Regions from separate parts of the Homo sapiens genome. Here region 1 is linked to region 2. The links are contacts of gene promoters, found by promoter capture Hi-C in blood cells and fetal thymus (Javierre and others, 2016). All regions are on one chromosome and are shown on one strand. Each heading gives the region's core, a stretch centred on a gene start or on the middle of the fragment in contact. The rest is flanking DNA. Distances are from core to core; before and after follow the strand shown.

Region 1 (4,788 bases), core at 2,214-4,713, about 32 Mb before region 2:
ATTATAATCAGGTTAAGGGGAAAACGTGAAATCCACAAAGGGTGATGTTAAAAGTTGCTATCAGGCTGCGGGCACAGTGGCTCACGTCTGTAATACCAGCACTGGGGGGTTGAGACAGACGGATCAACTTGAAGCCAGGGGTTCAAGACCAGCCTGGCCAACACGGCAAAACCCCATCTCTACTAAAAACACAAAAAATCAGCTGGGTGTGGTTGTGCGTGCCATAGTTCCAGCTACTCAGGAGAGTGAGGCAAGAGAATCACTTGAGCCTGGGAAGTGGAGGCTGTAGTGAGCCAAGATAATGGCACTGCACTCCAGCCTGGGCGACAGAGTGAGACTCTGTCTCCAACAACAACAACAAAAAAACGTTGCTATGAGTAATAATCCATCATAGATGTACACCTGTCAAGCAGTGCTGGACACACACTGATCGGGGACCCTGTTCTTCAGAGTGATAAATCAAACAGCCAGTTACTCTCTTTTGATGAAATGGCTTGATATTATGGAAAGTGCATTGAGTGAGTTATAAACTTTAAACACGTCAACTGTATGGTATGTGAATGGTATGGTATCTTAATGAAGCCGCCCTTGGTTTTTTGGGTTTTTTTTTTTAGACAGAGTCTGGTTCTGTTGCCCAGGTTGGAGTGCAGTGGCGTGATCCTGGCTCACTGCAACCTCCACCTCCCAGGTTCAAGCGATTCTCCTGCCTCAGCCTCCCGAGCAGCTGTGATTACAGGTACCTACTACCATGCCCAGCTAATTTTTGTATTTTTAGTAGAGATGGGGTTTCACCATATTGGCCAGGCTGATTTCCAGCTCCTGATCTCAAGTGATCTGCCCGCCTCAGCCTCCCAAAGTGCTGGGATTACAGGCATAAGCCACCGTGCCTGGCCTGCCCTTGGTTTTGATGCTGTGCAGGGTCTTTGTATGCAAAATTTTTTACACATAAGGAAGGTTATGTTTGGGGAATCAATAAATGGTCTCAGTCCATGAAATCATTCTCTAGAAGAGTAGTTCCACAGACTACTCTAAATTCTCATGCCCCACAAAAGACCAGCTGAATCAGAATCTCTGGGGATAAGGCTGAAGAATCTGTGTTTCAACAAGCTCTATGTATAATGAAGTTTGAGAACACTGTGTTAGACTACCTAAGAACTAAGAAAATGGTAAATGATAGCTATACTATTTTTCCTTCTTTTCTTATACTAGCAATTAAATACCTAGCAAAAAATATTTATTAGAGCAATATACCATTTTCATTTCACAGAACTACCTAACAGCTCTTTAAAGTTCAATATAATGGAATTTTACTCGTATATCCAGTTTCAAGAAAACCCACCCCATGACAAAACTTATTACAACACAATTTCTAACAACTTTAAAACAATTTTGTAGTTTACCTTGTATTGATCATTGGGACCCAGTTTGTTCCAGGGCTCTGGGTTATTTCTGTCCCAACTAAAAGAAATAAAACATTACGACTGTTATAATAATAAAGCACTATTTAGTGTTTTGTACTAAGAATACATTTTTGAACAGATCAATCTTATTTTCTATTAGATGAGGTATGGTGTTATTTCATTATGAAGTTGAAACAGGTAGAGGATCTATAATAAGCAATCTCATGTAATCAATTAGAAAAAAGGTAGAACACAGAATCCCTATCACAAGATACTTTTTATCTGGCTTTCACAAAACCTTTCCATTTAATTAATAAAGTGATATACAGAAAAGTGCATAGAATAATGATGAATCAATCTTTTGATTGTCTATTGTTTTTCAACTGCAAATGTGCAAGTGAAGGCAAAAAACATTTACATGTGCCGAGAACCATGATTATTTTATAAAAACAATTATTTTTATGTCAATCCTCAAAACATTACAAGATTTGGTATTAGCAGTTCTACTTTACCAAAGAGAAAACGAGACTCAGAGAAATTAGATAATTTCATGAACCAAAAAAAGTAAATGAAAACAGCAGATTTGAGATCTGAACTTATTGTATGACTGTAAATGTAACATTCTTTCTACTACCCTAATGTTATCGCCCTACAGAGACTGTGGCTCCTAAACTGCCTTGATCAGCTATCAAAGTTTTAAACATTTTTAAGTACTTACCAAACATCTGGATTGAACAATGCCAGACGCAAGAGATACAGTGTTGCTCCAGTAGCTCCAGTTCCAATAAATACAAAGAGGGGGATCAACTAAACCAAACACAAAATAGAATAACCATCTTCAAATACTTAAAACACTGGCCAACGAGAGATTACAGTAGTTTCTGCACATTGATTTCCAAGTCTCAAACTGTTATTGGACTGTTTTGTCTTAAAATTTAAATAAAGTAGATCTTACATTGAGGTAAGATTTCTTATAACTGTGTTCTAAAGAAAGAAATGGAATTTGGAAAGGATGTTAAGATGACTCTGGTTTAAGTGTCTTACTTTTTAATGTGGAGCAAATTATAGGTACATTTTTAAATTTCCAAGAAAATGTATCGAGTCTTCTTCACCTCTCTAATATTTACATGTCATTCCCATTAAATTTTCTGGCTTCCTTTATCCTGGGGCTTGAAAAACAAATTCTTTGCAAATTATTTAAGGGTGCCTCTATAAAGATGTATGAAAAATAGAATCTGAATAAGTAAACGTATCTATTACAAATACTGGCTTTAAGCATTATCTCTGAAAACGTAATGCTACCAATGCTTGCTGCGTATTTAGGGAACCGGATTTAAGACAGATTAAAGATTGCATAGACTTTTAGCTCTACAGCACATTGATGTGCTGAGGAAAAATGAGATGCCAAAGAACTTAACTGCAATTTCCACACTTCGAAATTTTCCCAAAAGCAACGACGTCCAGACAAAGTGAGGATTCCAAGATCACGGACCCCTCTTATTTACCAAAAGGCCTGGTGGTGCAATGCGGCGAATACAAGAACCTCCAGAGATGGTATAACACATAGGGAACCTGACCTATGCTAGTCTCTGACCCACACAGCGCACATCTATCCCTCCTGGACCGCACAACCTGCAAAAGAGAGCGGCCACCAGACTGTTCCAATATTCACTAACTAGAAAAAACTAGGTTTTTTTTCCGAGCAGTGTCCGTCTCCTTCCTCCTGTCAGACAAAACCCCACAATGCATGGCGTAGAGGGTCACAGAGGCCTGGGACAACTAAGATGACAAACACTAGGCGAGGCAGGGTCTGGTCTGACGGACGGTAAGTGGCTGTAAATGAGGACGTTCCCAGGGAACAGAAAGAGGCGCACCCCGACGCAAGAAGGACAAGGGAAAACATTAGGAGAGCGGTCACGAACTTACGCTCGGATGCTTCTTGGCCTGACCGATGATCTGGCGGAGCATGTTTGCGGCAGAGGTCTCCGACTGGAAAGGAGAGAACCGACCTAGCCACCAGGCCCTAAGCTAAAAATTATCTGCAATGAGACACTACGGACTTCCAAAGTCACCCAGGACCTCCTACCTGAAGGACCCTTGGCTGGGAGGGCAGCTTGCGGCAGGAGGGCCCGGATGCGACTGTCTTTAATAGTGCCTGCTTAGATCTAACCCCTCATATGTTCGTCCTGACCTGGTCGGACCATCATCATTCCACTTCATAGTGAAATGCCTTCATTGCCGTGCCATGCATATTTCTGAGGGGAATTTTTTTGGTCGAAACGAGGACTCTTCGATTGACCAGACAGGCACTTTCCAAGGGTGCCACGTACTGAGGAATGCGGTCGGAGCGTGGGCGCACGGGCCGCGCGCTCCGTGAGTAGGGGGCCTCTCCCGCGGCGCCTGAGAGCCGGGTCCGCGCGCAGAGGCCCTGGGGGCGCGCGTGCCGGGTGCGCGCTGGCCAGCTGTGACTGCCGCTGAGGGAGCTGCGCGGCGCCTCTGGGAGCCGAGCGCCGGGCGCCTGGAGGGCAGGTCGGGCCTCTTGCCGCTAAGGTCAGCGGCTGCGGTTTGAGAAGACTGCAGCTGCTTCCTGTGTTACGCTGTCGCAGACAAGCAGAAGTTAAAAACTAGTAAATGACTTAAAGGTGATAATAGTCCTGGCAGTGTATTTCTGAACCCTCAGATCCTGGCCCTCGGTTGAAAGTTCGTCGCCACAAAGACCTTTCCAACACGCCACTATCCCCCGTCCCTGGTCCCAAATTGCATCTTTAAAATGTGTTTTCAATGGTCGTGTAGCTACAGATAATCTTTCCCACTACCCCAGTCGAATTTTCATTTGTCTTTTGTTTTGTTTTCTTCGTTGTTTTTTTTACCCGAAGGACTTCCATAGGACAGGCTTTGCGGGGGAGGGTGGGGGGATTGGGATAAAATGTACACTCTGAACCCTCTCCAATCTCATACGTAGCTTAAAGCATTAATCAAATGATCAAGCAAGTATTAATAATTGGGACTAGAAATCATAGGAGAAGGCTCCACCGGAAGTTACACTAGCTCTGAAGGAGGAGCGGACATTAACCAGGTGAAAACGGAGGATGCAGGTGTACAGGGCGGAGGTAATAACACGTGAAGGTCTGAAGCTATTGAAAACCCGAGGGAGCTGTATGAGGTCTAGTGTGGCTGGAAAGTAAAAGGGAGAGCAAGGTGGGGATCAGATCTGCTGGGCCAATAACCGCTTAAACATCATGGGTTTTATGTTGAGAGCTTGGGAAGGTTGTGTTTTTAAATGATTGCTTTGTGAATAATTGATTAGAAGGGATAAGCGTGAGAGGGGAAAGACCTATCAAGGGGCCATTGCAATAGTCCATAATCTGTGTGACAGATAATGGTAGCT
Region 2 (4,756 bases), core at 125-2,624:
GGTTAGTGCTCTGTAAATGAGACTCTTTAATAGCTACTTTCCCAGCTTCTACTTTCTGCAAGAATTTTAATTCTGCCTTCAATTTGCTGCACAGCTTTGCACCACCTTCTATGCCACCTTTTCTTGATCTAGAAAGTGATTCTGCTCTCTTGATCAGTTCCTTGGCTATGGCGATTCGTTCACAGAGCATGGAATGTGCAGACATGCTGTCAGCATTATTCCTTTCCTAGGGAAAGAAACAAGGCAAACTTCAGTAGTCTCCTAAAATTATGACAATCAATTCTTCACTGGTGATTAAAAACTTCAATCTAGCAACACAGCTTATGGAGGGTGAGTCTATGAACCCGGGCTTGTGTATGTCTCATTCTGGAGTGACTGCTTCCTCTGATAGCTAAGGAAAGGATGGCAGCTACACTTTTGAACTCTTCTTTAGGTACGTCTGACACACTTTAGACCTTCATTTCTTCAGCTTGAAAGCCATGGGGACACAGCATGGTCCTAGGTTAGGATACAATGCAAGAGTTGGGCAATCTGCTATATAAATAATTCCCTTATGTCTATCAGCGGCCTGTTTAACTGCTGAGAAATTTTAATAAAGGCGACAAAAATGCCGAAAACAAAAATACACACAGACTGGCTAGTTAGCAAACTGTCCAAAGCAAGTGTCTGTCCTAAACTGAGCACTTCAGCCTCCCTAACCTTTTCCTCCTTCCCGAGTTGGTCTCCTTCAACCGGCTGCCTCATGATTTCCCCCGAGGCTTGGGGTACTTACGCCAAAAAAAATCAACACTGCCTCATTTCTGCATTTGACGTCAACCCAGACTATTTTAAAAGACCGAAGAAGACCACCAACTTGCGTCCCACTCCCACTCCGACTCTGAAGGAAAATCCGAAGATGAAACTAAACTCCAAGGCTGCAACCCGCGGCGGCCGTGCAAGCGGCCCCAGCGCAGGTCGCCGGGTGGGCGGGCCAGAGGCCGGCGGGGCCTTCTCGGTGGGCTGCGGGGCCCTCGGCCCTGCCCGGCCACCTGCACAGCCGGGCCCTGCCAGGAGGGGCCGGGGCCGAAAAGCCCCCACCGCCAGCGCCGCGGCTCAGGGACCAGGCGCTGATAGCGCGCGGCCGACCCCCTTCCCGCCGGGCCGGCCCTGCCCAGCCCCCTCTGGCCTCAGAAGAGGCGCCCCGCTCCCAGCCTCCCCGCCTCGCTCCCCGGCTCCTCACCGGCAGCGCCAGAACCGCGAGCGCGAGCACGCAGGCGCGTGCACGCAGAGGCCGGGACCCGCCGGGAAATCTCAACCGGGCAGCCCCCACCCCGCTCGAACGCCGAGGCGGCTCCACCCGCGCGAGCCCCGCCGCCTCGGGCACCTCCTGCATCACGTGGTTCCGGGCCGGGTGACGCCAAACCTGCGATTCCCAAGCGGCAGCGCGGCCTCCCGAGCCGGGTTGACGCTGGCGTGGCGGCCATGTTTATTGAGGGCACCTGGCTTCTCCCGCTTGCGCCGCCGGGTGAGCCTGAAGGCGCGCACCCACCTGGCTCCAGGAAGAGGGACCGAGCTCGCGTGCTGGGCCTCACTCCCACTGGGGGCGTCGGCCACTCGATCGCAACCGGGTCGTAGGCATTTTGGGGGCTCATTTTAACAGAAGAAACGCTGGAGAAGCTTGTCAGAGGTGACAGCTGAGAAGTACTGCCTCTGGGACTTCTGCCTCCAAGCCAAAGCACTTTCCACTGCATTGTCCTGGGCCCTCCAAAGAAAGTGTGCTGTCCTTCTGAAGAGAAGAAATGATTGCATGGCTTCCGAGGGGCTGCCATATTCATATTACTGTAGTAGAGTGTCCAGAGTCACCCAGAAAGATTAGGGCTGTAAGAAAGTAAAGCTAATTTAAAATATTAAAGAGGACTTCCAGTTATAATTAATCCTGTGTATCCTGCTCCTTCTCCAAACTTAACAGTAAAGCAATGCTCCTTCTCCAAATAACAGTAAAGCAATGACAAAGGGAACAAACAAAGGCAAAAAGAACAAGAGAAGAGATGACTGCAGACCGGTTATACCAACACATTTTTGGAGGACAAGAGCAATAACTTATTCAGTCCTTACAGCGTGACAGACATTGTTCTAAGTGTTTTACACATTGTTCACTCCTTTAAACAACCTAAAAGGTAGAGATATTAAGTATGCTTTACAGATAAGTGAGCCATAGGGAGGTTACCTGAACCCAAGCACCCTCTTTGCAGATGGTGTCAGGAGAACTGAGCAAACTGCTTGTAGAAGGGGATATTTAGCCACTGATTCACAAAGCAGAACCCCAGAAAGCTTCAGGTGCCTTGAAGGTAGAAGGGAGGGCAGTAAATTGTTCAGGCAGAAGACTAGTTTAAGATGCTAAAGACAGGGCATCAGAGGGATTCCAGACACAAAGCCTAACAAAGGATGAGAGGTGCCATGATGTTTTCCTACTGAATAGTGCAATGCTAGCAGCCCCCTTCTCTGCCCCTCCCATAATGCAGGCACCCCTCTACCGCTCCCTACCACTATCTCCCCATAACCCTATTTTTCTCTGAAGAAATGAGTAGACAAAAGACCCTAGAGAAATGGCTCGGCAATACCAACATTCAGCATCCCCTAGTGTGAGCCTCACGAACACAGCATTTCCCAACGTTTTTGTTATTTGAAGGAAATGGAAAACAGAACAAAATGGTCTCAAAAAGTATTCTATAACTAGCATCTTCAAATAAAAGATATTTCAGCTATGAAACAAGAGGATTTCTTTTTTTAAGGAGACAGCAGAGCACAGGAAATGGTTCTTCTGTAGTAAAAATCATATCCCAAATTTCAAAACATCAATGAGTTGGAAAAATTTAGAAAGTAGAAATAGATGAAAAATGGAGCAAAAACAAAAGGATCCAGTATCCAATTAACAGGAGTTTAGAAACAAAAACAAAATGAAGAGAAAATTTTTCAAAAACTTAATAGAAAATTTAGCAAACAGAAACGTTTTTCACAGTGCAAGGGCCCACTGAGTGCTCACCACAATGACTATTAAGAAACCCACACAAAGGAACATGGTTGTGAAGTTTCAGAACACAGCAGATAAGAGAAAAACCAAGAGCTGCAGAGGGGAAAACTTACAAAGGACTTGGCATCACATACGCAATAGTATTAGGCTTCCTATCAGCAACACTGGAATTTAGAAGGGAGTAATGCTTTCAAAATGTGGAGATAATTTATTTCTTAGAGTTTTTAAACCCAGCCAATTCAGAGAGAAAGCAAGGAGAATAAAGATAGTTTCAAACAAGCACCTAGCCTGGATTGGAACAGGAAGACAGAGGGTTCTAAGAGAAACTTCTCTGAGGTGTGGGGAAGAGAACTGATACAGAGTGCCTGATATCTGACTGATGAGGAAAATATTAAGCAGAGGGTGTTAAATTTCTGTTGGGGGAATCTGGCAAGGATTGGTGACAGCTACGCAGAAAACAAAGTAACCAAGTGGGCTGGGCGCCGCCATGGCTTATTTGTAATCCCAACACTTTGTGAGTCCAGGGCGGGAGAATCACTTGAGCACAGGAGTTCAAATCCAGCCTGGACAATGTAGTGAGATCCCTGTCTCCACAAAAAGTAAAAAAACTAGCTGGCCATGGTGGCTGACATCTGTATTCACACCTACTGCAATGGCTGGGGTGGGAGGATCGTTTGACCCCACGTCAAGGCTACAGTGAACTGATTTGTGCCACCTCACTCCAGCCTGGGTGACAGAGTGAGACTGTCTCAAAAAAAAAAAAAAAAGAAAAAAAAGCGGTTATCACTGCCAGGAAAGTTGTTCCGGAAATGTAAATTGTAGTACACTTAGTCATAAGAAAAATCTTCAACATGATTTAATTGAGGTAGGGAGAAGGAAGTCAGTGTGATATGAGGATTCTAAATTCTCATCTTGCACAATGGGAAGTCTGGCAGCTCAACTCCGGGAATCCAAGAAAAAGGCATATAATCCTACTATTTTGAAATACGGAGGCAAGTACCTCATGAAACACCTAAAAAAGTCAAAAGTGATGGCTTTCAGGGAGTAGCACTCACATTTTACTTAACTTTTTAAATATGCTCATGCTTAGGAAGTTATCAGATAATTGGCAGCCAGATATTGCTAGTTTCATAAGTTTCTTGAGAACAGGGTGGAGGGAGGAGCTCTAAATTGAAGGAACTGTGTGAAGCAATGTGACTTTCATACAGAACCACCAGGACTGGTTTTCAGGAAATCAGGATTCTAATCCAAGGGAACTCTCAACTCCTATATGTTCTTGGGCAATTCGCTGAACATCAACTTGCTCTTCTTTGCAATGGGGGGCTCAGAGAGCTTGCCTACATGGGTGAGTAGACTCCTGAAAAAAAGGTGAGGTAAGTACTAAGAGTTGGCAGTTTCATTCTATGAAGAAAACTGAGCAATAGATGAAAACCCTTCAATGTTCACTTATCACCTACTTGATGCCTGAGAGACTGTGCAAGGTAATTATCTCAAGGTTGGGTTTTTTTTTTTTTCCTTCAGGGATGCTTGAGTGTTATCAGCACTTGATAATTATAAGGCTCTGTATTAGTATTCTTTATTGCCTGTGTATGTGAATTTTAAGCATCTCCATGTTTCACTGCTATTAATTGCTTTGCAAATTTAAATTCATGGTTCAGTAGAACTGGGAGGAAGTAGAACAAATGGAGTTAAAATGTTTTAAGGGTTAGAAGATACAAAATGAACCAAAAGGCAGAGGCTCTGAAC

The links. The method cuts DNA at HindIII sites, captures the fragments that hold promoters and counts their contacts. A CHiCAGO score of 5 or more calls a contact.
Region 1: the fragment with the promoter of COXFA4 here is called in contact with the fragment with the promoter of C7orf25 in region 2 in 1 of 17 cell types (monocytes); the score reaches 5.7 in monocytes.

What each region holds. Positions count from the first base shown.
Region 1 is chr7:10,936,690-10,941,477 of GRCh38, forward strand. It overlaps COXFA4 (cytochrome c oxidase associated subunit FA4), which reads right to left and starts at 3,464. Exons shown (of 4, transcript NM_002489.4): 1 at 3,327-3,464; 2 at 2,119-2,207; 3 at 1,401-1,458. The coding sequence starts at 3,368. It overlaps LOC107986767 (a long non-coding RNA gene), which reads left to right and starts at 3,567. Exons shown (of 3, transcript XR_001745091.3): 1 at 3,567-4,042. RefSeq lists enhancers at 3,447-3,716, 3,601-4,521 and a silencer at 3,747-3,996. The HindIII fragment of the contact is 7,174 bases long and covers 1-4,788 here.
Region 2 is chr7:42,910,696-42,915,451 of GRCh38, forward strand. It overlaps C7orf25 (chromosome 7 open reading frame 25), which reads right to left and starts at 1,375. Exons shown (of 2, transcript NM_001099858.2): 1 at 1,220-1,375; 2 at 1-226. The coding sequence starts at 205. RefSeq lists enhancers at 204-901, 902-1,598, 3,118-3,177 and a silencer at 947-1,206. The HindIII fragment of the contact is 2,903 bases long and covers 1-1,654 here.